Linked DNA regions of Homo sapiens: all the other regions are linked to region 1. The links are contacts of gene promoters, found by promoter capture Hi-C in human tissues and cell types (Jung and others, 2019). All regions are on one chromosome and are shown on one strand. Each heading gives the region's core, a stretch centred on a gene start or on the middle of the fragment in contact. The rest is flanking DNA. Distances are from core to core; before and after follow the strand shown. Region 1 holds the start of CAMSAP1 (calmodulin regulated spectrin associated protein 1). Region 2 holds the start of MRPS2 (mitochondrial ribosomal protein S2). Region 3 overlaps QSOX2 (quiescin sulfhydryl oxidase 2). Region 4 has its middle 18 kb from the start of LINC01502.

Evidence for each region. The method cuts DNA at HindIII sites, captures the fragments that hold promoters and counts their contacts. A contact is called where the count stands out against the background at its distance.
Region 2: a contact is called between the fragment with the promoter of MRPS2 here and the fragment with the promoter of CAMSAP1 in region 1, in 1 of the 25 tissues and cell types used here (dorsolateral prefrontal cortex).
Region 3: a contact is called between a fragment that was not itself captured here and the fragment with the promoter of CAMSAP1 in region 1, in 2 of the 25 tissues and cell types used here (liver and lymphoblastoid cells).
Region 4: a contact is called between a fragment that was not itself captured here and the fragment with the promoter of CAMSAP1 in region 1, in 1 of the 25 tissues and cell types used here (dorsolateral prefrontal cortex).

What each region holds. Positions count from the first base shown.
Region 1 is chr9:135,906,265-135,908,964 of GRCh38, reverse strand. CAMSAP1 (calmodulin regulated spectrin associated protein 1) reads left to right here and starts at 1,419. Exons shown (of 17, transcript NM_015447.4): 1 at 1,419-1,965. The coding sequence starts at 1,806. It overlaps CAMSAP1-DT (CAMSAP1 divergent transcript), which reads right to left and starts at 1,132. Exons shown (of 2, transcript XR_007061860.1): 1 at 46-1,132. RefSeq lists silencers at 851-1,530, 1,571-1,680, 1,761-1,830, 2,231-2,280. The HindIII fragment of the contact is 39,877 bases long and covers 1-2,700 here.
Region 2 is chr9:135,499,287-135,501,986 of GRCh38, reverse strand. It overlaps MRPS2 (mitochondrial ribosomal protein S2), which reads right to left and starts at 1,305. Exons shown (of 4, transcript NM_016034.5): 1 at 1,234-1,305; 2 at 864-989; 3 at 14-143. The coding sequence starts at 1,276. It overlaps PIERCE1 (piercer of microtubule wall 1), which reads left to right and starts at 2,118. Exons shown (of 3, transcript NM_001048265.2): 1 at 2,118-2,278. The coding sequence starts at 2,136. RefSeq lists an enhancer at 456-1,080 and silencers at 1,036-1,195, 1,406-1,575, 1,846-2,015. The HindIII fragment of the contact is 18,925 bases long and covers 1-2,700 here.
Region 3 is chr9:136,224,488-136,227,187 of GRCh38, reverse strand. It overlaps QSOX2 (quiescin sulfhydryl oxidase 2), which reads left to right. Exons shown (of 12, transcript NM_181701.4): 2 at 314-414; 3 at 2,279-2,327. Among named protein-coding and RNA genes, the nearest start is that of QSOX2, 20 kb to the left of the region's middle. RefSeq lists enhancers at 1,144-1,363, 1,494-1,573, 1,754-1,803. The HindIII fragment of the contact is 5,657 bases long and covers 1-2,700 here.
Region 4 is chr9:135,591,870-135,594,591 of GRCh38, reverse strand. It overlaps the pseudogene PAEPP1. Among named protein-coding and RNA genes, the nearest start is that of LINC01502, 18 kb to the right of the region's middle. The HindIII fragment of the contact is 7,979 bases long and covers 1-2,722 here.

The DNA.
Region 1 (2,700 bases), core at 170-2,669:
AGGACCTGTCTGCATCCCTCCATGTCCCCACCTCCCATTTCCTACCAGTCCTTCCAGCTCCTGCGTTCTCGACTTAGTGGCCTCTACTGTGTTTCTTACACTCCAGGCTCTCGTGTCTCAGAGGCTCTGTCTGCCGTGCTCCTTGCTCAAGACAGTACTTCTGCAGATATCCTTACCCTCGACGCCCACGTCCCGCCGGTCTTTGCTCAAATAAGTGCCCTCCTCCTATGGCTTTCCTTGACCGCTCTGCCCTGTCCACCTCGTGTTCTTTTCAGACGGCTGACTCAAGAAAAAATAGACAATCTCAACAGACCTATAACAAGTGAAGAGACTCAATTAGTAACCAAAAAACTATGAATCAAATAAGTCATCAAAAAAGCCCAGGCCCAAATGGCTTCAAGGTTGAATTGAAGCCTGCACGTGGGTTGGTATGTGAATGACGGACTGCCTGGGTCCTCTGGGCACCTGGCATTTCATACATGTTCCGCCTCTGGCACGGGGTGTCTCGACCAGGTACAGACAGGCTGGGAGCCCCGCGCCGGGCGCCCGCTCCCTGGAAGCTCGACCTCTCCCTGCCGTCAAGGCGCCGGTGGGCGGCACGTGGGCCGGCTCTCCCGGGGGCAGTTCTCTATTTCGCTGGTGAGGTTCTCAGACCAAATCCTCGGAATGCAAACTCTCACGGCGTTCCCGTAATTCTCAGCCCAGCGCGGGCCCCGACGCAGGCTCCAGGGGAACGAAGTCAGCGTCCCTTCCGGGGGATGCGCCGGCGGGGCCGCACCTGTTTCTGCCTCAGGGGTCCAAACGCCCACCTTCCCTGCACCGGGACGGGGGTCTGGAGACTGGCACGTCCACCTGGTGCCCGTCTGCTGGGCTGTCGCCTGCCGAGGTCGCCGCCGGCCACACCCACGAGGTCCCCAGGGCGCCGGCGGCGAGACCTCGGCCGGCCAGGGGGCCGGGCTGTGGCTGAGGTGGGACGAGCCAGGGCCGGGGAGGAGACACGGCGCTAAAAGAGGGCAGCTGCGGGCTCGGCAGGATCCCCGCCGCCGACCCACTCCACCCACCCCGCGCCGCCCACTCCCCGCTGCCTACGCCGCGCTCCACACCGCGGGCCTTAGAGCCTGAGGAAAGCAACGGGGCAGGCGCGGACCAGGGCGGGTCCTACTGCGCCTGCGGAAGCGGGCGGGGAGGGGCGGGTCGACGCTCACTGCGCCTGCGGAAAGGGGCGGGGCAGGCACAGGCCTGCGGGTGCCACCTACTGCGCCTGCGGAAAGGGGCGGGGCGGGCGCGGGCTGGCGGGCGGTGCCTACTGCGCCTGCGGAAAGGGGCGGGGCAGGCGCGAGAAGGGAGCGGAGCTGGGGGCGGGGTCGAGGGCGGGGTGGCGGGCGGTGCCTACTGCGCCTGTGCGAGGCCCCGGCGGTGAGCGCGCTCCCGCTCCTTGGCCACCGCCTCAGCCGCTGTCGCCGCCGCCGCCGCTCACCCGGGACCGCGCACGCGCTGCCACCGCCCCCGGCCCGCTCCCGCCCCCGCGCCCGCCCCCGCCCCCGGCCCGCGCCCTCCTGCCGCCGCCTCTTTGGGCCGCGGGCTCGGCACCTCCTCCGCTCGGGCTCAGCGCCCGCAGCATGCAGCAGCCGCGGGGGCGGCGACGGCGGCGGCTGTGAGGTGAGGCGGGGGCCGCGCTCGGGCGCCCCTCCCGGCTGGCCGGCTGCGGGGCCGAGTGGTGGCTCGGGGCGCACCGGGCCCGGCGCGGCGAGGGGCGGCGGCGCCTTTGTTGCGGCCGGGCCGCCGCCTCAGCCCTTTGTCTGCAGATGGTGGACGCGAGCGGCCGCGCCGCCGCCGAGGGCTGGAGGAAGATGGAGGCCCCGCCGGACGGCGCCGCCGACCTCGTGCCCCTGGACCGCTACGACGCGGCGCGCGCCAAGATCGCCGCCAACCTGCAGTGGATCTGCGCCAAGGCCTACGGCCGAGGTGGGCCGGGTGAGGGGCGCGGGGCGGGGGCCAGGGGCGCGGGCCGGGGCCGGGGGACGCGGCCGGGGTCCGGCCGGGTCGGGGTCCGCGCGCCGCGCCTTTGTGCCGCGTCCGCACAGGGTCGGGGCTGGGCCGGCCGCCTCCGAGGTCCTGGCGGCGCCCGGGCAACGCGGAGCGTGGGGACGCGGTCACCTGGCGAGTGGGCGTCCCTGCGGCGGAGGGCGGCGTGGGTCGGGGCTTCCGCTCCTATTTCGGGAGTGCCCCCAGCCTCCCGTTGGCGGCGGCGGCGGCGGGAAGGAGCTGCCCGGTTCTGGGCGCAGGGAGGGACCATGGGGACGCGGGGCCGCCGTCTGAGGCGCCGCTTCCCGGCGCGCCGGGCATCGTCCAGTGCTGGACCTGTGATTCCGAGCCTTGCACTTGTTATGAATTTTGATGCTTACAAGCTGTCAGCTGTTGAATTCCCCAACTAGAAATTGCGTATTCCGCGCATTGTGCTTAATCATAATGATCCCCTTTGGTTAATTCCTGTTTGGAAGAACTAGGTAACCTTGTTACTCAGTCCAGTTTGTTAGGCCCTAATGTGCTTAGTGGATTAAGACGCTTCTGTTTCGTGCCCTGGGAACAGGACAGACCTAGTGATTCTCGTCAGTGGCTGACTTCTTTATTAATTTCAGGTGCTTTGTTTCAGGTACAATTAAAGGTTAATATTTCTGCAATCCTCTTTTCATTTGAAGC
Region 2 (2,700 bases), core at 56-2,555, 410 kb after region 1:
GGGTGTCACCTACCTGTGCCGACAGCCAGCTTTGTGTCCCAGATGGACTCGGGCATCGAAGAGGCTTCTCACGGAAAACAGTTCCTTGACATTGAAGAAGTCAGAGTGCTTGAGGGGCTCATTCAAAATCTTGTCGTTGAAATCTACGGCAGGGAGGAGGAGCGACGCTGCGTCTCCCACCGGTGGCAGCAGAGACAGGCAGAGCGCAGTTCCCGCCCACCCCTGCTCCCAAGTGCCTTCTGTGACACCGAGGTGGGGAGCCGGGAGCCCAGCAGCCCCAGGAAAGACCTGGAAGCACAGGGACCTTTTCAGGAAACAGAGGGCTGGAGCCAGGTTCTGATCCCGACCTTGCTCCTGGGTAAGCCTGGTCGAACCTGGTCAACCCCGTCCCTTGGTCTTACTTGGAAGACAGAGGAGAAAAAGAGAGGGGCCCAGCGGGTTGCTCAGGTCTTTCTGGCACCTCCCCGCCTTGTGGTCTCAGGTGGCCAGCCAGAAAGTCCCCATCAGGAGTCCAGCAAGGTGGGCAGACTCCAAGCCCAGTGCCCCCAGGTCACTTGGGCCCGCCTGGGCGAGCTCGGGGCTCCGGGCCTCGGTGGTCCAGTGACACCCCCCTAGGGAGCGAAGCCTGTGCTAACCACTGGCCCGCCCGCTCCCTCTCACCCTATCCATGGTGAGGCGGTGGCCTCAGCCCGCTGTGCTACGTCAGGCAGGACCGAGCGGCGGCGAGCACGGGAGTGGGAGGAGCCCAGCGGAGCGCGCAGTTTCGACCGCGTGCAGCGCCCAGGCCCCTCTAGGGTTCGCATCCCCCGCGGCTGCCGGCCTCTCCTCGTTCCCACCCAACTCGGCTGGGCGCCCAGTGTTACCGGTGCTGTCCTCCGACTCGCGGATCATAAGGGCCGTCGCGCTTCCAAGCGTCCTGCGGCTCGGCCGAGCAGGCCGGGGGGTCGCCTTCCCGAGAAAGCCCAACCAGCGCGACGGGGCCCGGGCACCTGGGGGGAAGTAGATAGAGGTCCTGGCGCCGAGTCCCGAATGCACCACGCCCGCTCCCCACCGCATCCCCAACGGGCCCCTCCGCGTCCCTAACGGGTCCCCTCCGCGTCCCCGCGCCCTCCCCGAGTCCCCTCCGCGCTCGCCCCGGGTCCCCTCCACGTCCCCGCCGCTCCATCGGGTCCCCGCGCCCCTCCGCATCCTCCTCGCATGCTCCTCCCCAGGGTCCCGCAAGCGCGCGCTCACCCGCGCCGAGTATTCGGGGCAGCGCGGCCGAGGATGTCGCCATGGCTGGGACGCGGGGCAGAGCGAGGTCTCCCTCCAGGCCAGGCCGAGCGGCCTCCCCTTCCGTCGCCATCCGCGCGGGGCCGCAGTGCCGCCTACAGGCCCGGAGGAGCCACAGCGCTGTCCCCAGGCGGCTGGGACCTCCCTGCGGGGGCGGGGCACGCGAGGGGTCAGGGCCCGGGGTCCTGGGCTTGAGAGTCTCGGGCGGGGAGTGGAGCCACGGTCCTCGCCCTGCAGCTCGCCCCGCCCTGCTAATGGGACCGGCCAGCCCGGGAGGCCCCTGACCCTTGGGGAAGCCCGCTGGGCGATGGGGACCCTCGCCTCCCGCCAAGTGAGCTGTGAACCACGTCCTGCGCAACCTCTCGCTCTCCAAAACTGTTTGTAATATTTAAACGATATTTGGCTTAGGAGAATTTCATAAAGTTAGCCAGATCTCGGGTCTCAATTTAGACTCGGGGTGCTGGGGGGCATAGCATCCCTGGAGTACATTGGACAGCAAAAGTCCAATCGTTGCCTGCCGAGTGGACCTGCAGTGCTTAAACCCCGTCACCCGGCTGGCGGGGTCCCAGGCCCTGGGGTTTCTTTCGCCCGGGAGTCCACGCCCTGATGCTGGGGTGGCCCGGTCCCCCCGCGGGTGGCTGGGGGCCTGGGGCTGCCTCACACGACGGTCCCAGCAGGGAATCTCTCGCCGTCCCGACCTTCCCGGCCCTTGGGGAGTCGCCCGGCAGGTTCCGGACCCACCCGCAGAGGAACCCGGCCCACGCGCGGCGCCTTTAAGGCCCCTCCGCTCGCTCCCCAGTCACGTGACCTGGCCGTCGCTTGGCAACAGGACGCCGCCGAGTCCCGCTTCTCCTCCAGGCACAATGGCTGAGGAATGCCCCAGAGCGTGCGCGGAGCCTGTGGCGCCCAAGGCCACGGCCCCGCCGGAGAGGACCAGCGACTACTACCGCGTGAGCGCGGACCTGCCGGGCAGGTTCAACAACCCGGGGTGGTTCCGGGGCTACAGGTGAGGAAGCTGGGGCCCGCCTGGTCCTGGCGTCCACTGCTCGATAGCCCCGTGTGTGAGAGACCCCGCAAGACCCCCAAGGTCCTAGCTACAGAAATCAAGAAGATCGAGTGGTCATCCGGGGCCCGCGCTGTCATCGCCCGCCAGTGAGCGGCGACCGTGCTCCCTAGAGCCTCATACAAGGAAGTGGGGATAAGGGCAGTGGGGGGCAGGGCCGTGGGGGGAGAAAGCCCAGTTGTGGTCTCAGCTCCACTGATTTGTGTCGGGTGAGTCTCCTCTCCTCTCTACCCTGAAACTCCGCTGCGGGGCGTGAGCACAGCAGCACCTCCACTGTCTTGCTGTAGACTCAGCCAGCTCTGAGCTGCCACAGGGCATTGCAGGCTAAGAAGTAGTAAGAAACTCAATTCCTGTAGGCAGGTGCA
Region 3 (2,700 bases), core at 145-2,644, 320 kb before region 1:
CAGCGCTTTCATCCATCAGGGTGTCATTTAATTAGGGGCCCACAGCCTTGTCCCTGCTCCGTGATGTGCAGGTTCAGCACAAATCCGCTTGTTCTGTGACTATCTGTGGTAGGAGAGGCATCGTGCTGTTGGTGGAGTTCTCTCTCCTAGCTCCACATAGACGCTCTGTGTGATGAGGGCCTAACTGATGACCTAGAGGGGGCAGGTGGGCTGGTCTCGCAGGTGGCCGCAGCCTGGAGTGGGGACTGCTGGGTCCTGGGCTTCCCGGGAGTCCAGTGCTCACCACACTGAAGGTCATGCTCCTGCTTTTCAGACTGGGCCAGTGCCATTCGCGTCGCAGCTCTGGACTGCATGGAAGAGAAGAACCAGGCCGTGTGCCATGACTACGACATCCACTTCTACCCCACCTTCCGGGTGAGTATCACGCGGCTGCTTGTCCGTTGAAATTCACCTTCTACCCCACCTTCCAGGTGAGCATCACGCGGCTGCTTGTCTGTTGAAATTCGCCACATCATAGTGCCTGTGTTTTCGGCTTCTCTGGCTCTCTCCTTGGAACTTCGTAGGAATTGTAGGAGCTGATGTTTGGTGGGGGCAGCTCTTGTTCCACCCTGTTGTGCTGTGGAAGTGTCTGTGGGACTGTCCACGCTCACACAGACCCGGTCACATGGAGGGGATGCGTGAAAAGACCCCCTGCAGCCTGCACGGCCAGGGGGCGCAAGGAGACCAGGACTGCGAGGGCTGGCACCCCAGCCTGAAGCCACGCGTGTGGTCCGTGTACCATGGGGCTCTCACACATGCACACTCATGCACACACACACGCACACACAGGCACAGGGCCTCTGCCTTCCCCAGCCAAAGTCAGCCCTGCAGACAAGGCTGTGCCCATTGCTCCCACTAGGGGGCGGAGGTACCTGTGACCCTGTTGCAGGCCCGTGCATAGCATGTGTGTACCTGCGGGTGCCACTGCCTCCTGCGTGCCTTGACATGGACATCTCCAGAAACGTGGGCGCCTTGGGCCCACTTCCTGGGAAGCTTTGTCAATTTGAGTAAAACTCCGTCCTTGTCAGCCCTGGTGCCTTGCTGTGTGGTGTGGTGTCATGTCATGGTGGCTTCGCTTGTATTTTGGGGGCTGTTGTTTTCACTGTGCTGGCAGCACCTGTGGTCCTGCCCTAACAGGTGCCACGCTGGGCGGCACCGGTGTCAGCCCTGCCCCAGGGCCTCTCGGGGCCTGTGTCGCACACTTGCTTGCCTGCCTCTGCGTGTGATTACGTCAGCATGGCTTCCTGTTGTATTTTGATTTTGCTTCAGACACAGTTCACACTGTGCTGTATGTAAACTTTCGGGCCCTCTTTCTGTTACTTAATGGGACATTGCCCAGATCCACTACGATGCTCATTGGATGGGATTGTCCAGTGACGTCACTCTGAGAACCAGAGCCCCCCGTTGCCAGGTGTGTGGGCTCTTCCAGGCTTTGGTGGCTTTGAACGGCGCTGCTGTGCGCCTTCCCGGGCAAGGGGAGAGCTGAGGCTGGGAGAGAAGCCACTGGGCCGCGAACCGGGTCTGTGCACAACAGACCTGCAGGGCCAGCAGTGTCAGGCAGTTTTGTGCTCGCCCAGGGACCAGTGCAGCAGGAAGCACTGGCGGCTTCGTTTGCATTTCCCTGGCGGCTGCAGTGCCAGCACATCTGGCTTTGTGGGCCGTGGGTGTCATGGGTGAAGTGTCTTCCTGTCATCTGCACGTTTCCCTCTTAGCTGGCCAGTGCTTTTCTTACCGACCTCATCTCCGCCATCATGTAACCTTGTCTCGTCGCTGTCTCTAACGTACCCTTTGATGAAGAAAGTTTTTAATGTTAACATAAGAACCTAATCATCCACTCAGAGATACTGCGTGGTGTCTCCTCCTCCTGCACATCCTCCGTGTTGTCACAGCTAACGCTACAGCTAACCATTAAGACATAGGCTCACTACCAAGTCCCAGAGAGCGGTGTCTTTTATGATTCCAGCCCAGTTGAACTGTCTTGCTTCTAGCCCTGTTGGGTCAGAAAATGTAAATGATGGGAATGCTGATTGGAGCTAACCTTAGCCCCCTCGTAAATCTGACAGGAAACATTAATATGCACAAAGACAAGGAGAAGCGTGTGGTTTGTCATTAATTTATGAAAACTTTCCGAAGGAAATTGAGTAAAGCTCCCTCTAAGGTGACGGGCGTTTTGTTGCTTAAACACATGCAGATGCCCATGGAAGGCTGCCTCTTACTTGTTCTGTGTTTTTCCTCTTAGTATTTTAAAGCATTTACAAAGGAGTTTACAACTGGAGAAAATTTTAAAGGTAAGGACATAAGCATTGTATTTTAGTCCCTGAGATTCCCCTCATAAACCTGCTAAAGACACACGGTCCCAGAGCCTGGGGAGCTCCCAGCCTGGGTCAGCACCTTTCCCTCTGCTGACCTTCCTGCCTGCTTTCCCTTAAGAGTTCAGATATTAATAGTTTCAAAGAGAAATTTTAATTTTGTGCTTTGCCTTGCTTGGCAAATATTGTAGTAAAAACTTTTTCAGAGTAAATTTTTTATTGTAAAAATATTTGGAGATGTGCACAGATCACATGTACCCACCCGATGAATTTTTACAAATGATCCCACCCAGCCGAGCATCGCCCAGAGTGTGATCAGACCCCGCAGGCCACACCCTGGGGGGCTCTGCCT
Region 4 (2,722 bases), core at 29-2,528, 310 kb after region 1:
TTCATTCATTTCAGGGTTTCAGGGTTACTTATAAGCACAGCATATGCTATTTAATGTTGAATGACACTCTTGATGTGCAAGGTCTCCTTCATGAATGGAATATTATATTTTTTGAAACATATTTTTAAAAATTAATTAAAGATTCTTATATGGCACTTCTCCCTTAGTCTTAAGTTAGTTAATTTTATTGATACATTTGAGATGGAGTCTCATTCTGTCACCTAGGCTGGAGTGAGGTGGCATGATCACGGCTCACTGCAATGTCCACCTCCCAGGTTCAAGTGATTCCCCTGCCTCAGCCTCCGGAGTAGCTGGGATTACAGGTACCTGCCACCACACCCAGCTAATTTTTGTATTTTTAGTAGAGACGGGGTTTTACCGTGTTGGTCAGGCTGGTCTTGAACTCCTGACCTCAGGCGATCTGCCTATCTTGGCCTCCCAAAGTGCTGGGATTACAGGTGTGAGCCACCACACCTGGCTTTTATTGATACATTTTCTAATATTGAAATGTTCTTTGTTTTTTGGGCTAAATCATGATGTATTAAATACGTTTGTTAGATTCAGTCTGCTAATAAGGTATTCAGATATTTGTGTCTTGATTCTGAAAGTTGACAGCTTTCCTTTTCCTGTATCTTCCTTCTCCAGTTTTGTTATCAGGGCAGCTGAGCAACTCACCGTCTTTTTCTATGCCCTGGAATGGATCGTATGAGCCAGGAACTATCAGATAAAGGTTTTTTATTCTCATCCACAGACAGAAGATCTGGAACTATTCTGGTTTTTTCTATGATGATTGTTCTTTCTAAGTTTCCTCTACTTTTTGAGCCAATATTGGTCATTGATATTTTATTGGAAATGTATCCATGCCATCTATATTTTGAAAATTTAAAGTTATGCATGTTACAATTATTGACAAATCTATTTCTGTTGTTGCATATTCTTTTTCCTTTTGTGATGTTCAAAATATTTTATAATGAAAAACAAATTCCTCTCCCATATCTCACCTCTTTTGTTCAGTTCCTCAATCCAGGGGAAATCTCTTTATTTCACATTAGCCCAGAAAAGATCAATGGCATTTATGAGCAGATGAAGGCTGATAGCAAAGCTCTTCCTGGTAGCAACTTCCCTTATGCTCCAGAGAGATGCCCTGGAGGTCATGGGGTTTGTGTTTTTTAAATAGTGCAGAATTTGATTTGTAAAACACTCATTTAAGTTTTTATATCAATATTTATTCAATGAATGGGTCTGTGATTTTTCATATTTTGTCCTTTGTGTGGCCTGGACCTCCAACATGAATGGCAAGCTCTGGCCATCTCAGCAGCACTCTTATCTAGTTCCTGAAAATTTTAAAGCCTCCTATAGTGTCTTGATCCCCAAATATGATAGGGCCTACAATACAGAAACCATGAACTCAGTTCCCTCAACCCCCCAGCCCCCGAGTCCCCCAGCCCCCAAGCCCCCCAGCCCCTGAGCCCCCCAGCCTCTGAGCCCCCCAGCCCAGTCCCCCAGCCCCTGAGTCATCCAGGCCCCAAGCCCCCAGCCCCCGAGTCCCCCAGCCCCCGAGTCCCCAGCCCCCGAGTCCCCAGCCCCCGTGCCCCCCAGCCTCTGAGACCCCAGCCCCTGAGTCCCCCAGTCCCCGATCCCCCCAGCCCCTGAGTCTGCCAGTCCCCGAGTTCCCCAGCCCCACAGCCTGCCCTCAGCTGCATCCCCACGCGCCTGCCAGCACAGACTCAGGGGACGGGGTTATTTATTGTTCAAAGAGGGACAGCTTAGGACAGGAGACCCCAGGCTGAGACCCAGGAGGTCCCAGCGTCCCAGGAAACGTGCCTTGGTCTTCAGCCTCCTTGTCCCTCCCAGGAAGGCGACATCCTCTCCGTCCGCACAGGGGCCGAGGCTCCAGGACCTGATGTGCACAAAAGGGCTCCCCTGTGACTCTAGGACCCTGCCCCTGCAGGTCCTAGAGTGAGGGACCCCTGCTTATGTGAGAGGAGCCCCCACCTCACCCCCAGCTTCAGGCCGGAGGGGCTTATGATCCCAGGCCCACCCCTGAGCCCCCCACCCTCACTCACCCCCACCCTGGAGGAGAAGGCCTCATCCTGTGCCCAGGACACAGGAAATGGCATCTGGAGCAGCCAACCCCAGAGACGCGGGCACATGGCCAGCTGGGCTTTTCCAGATGCCCCAGGATTCCAGCCCATCGCTCAGGGTCAGCCCTGGGGAATGGACACAGTGGGGTCTCTTCCAGGAGCCCAGAAAGGCGACCTCAGGCTATGGGCGGGGCTGGTACATTACCCAGGAGGCAGGACTGAGCAGGAGCTCATCTAGACGCGGCACTGTTCTGTGGGAGGAGAGGGGGCAGTGGGGGCGTCAGTGGGAGGGGAGACTTAGCTGGGGACACAGCAGTCCCAGGGCCAGAGGTTGGGGGATGATGGGAGGGGGACGGGACCCCACCTCAGGGTGCCTTTGCATCCCCAGGGGAGCCCTGGGGAGAACATGGGAGGGGCCAACGAGGAGTGACGGGTGCTGCCCTGAGTCCTACAGGGCCAGCGGGGGGCTTGGGCTGGGACAGTGGTGGCTTCTCCTCCAGCCGAGGCTGGGCCTGTCTTGGGTGGAGCTCACCTTCCGCCTGGGTAACGTCCAGGAAGATCCACATGTGCACGGGCAGGGTCCTGAGAAAGCTGATGAATTCCTCCATGACCTTGTCGTCTGCCTCTAGGGTCCTGGC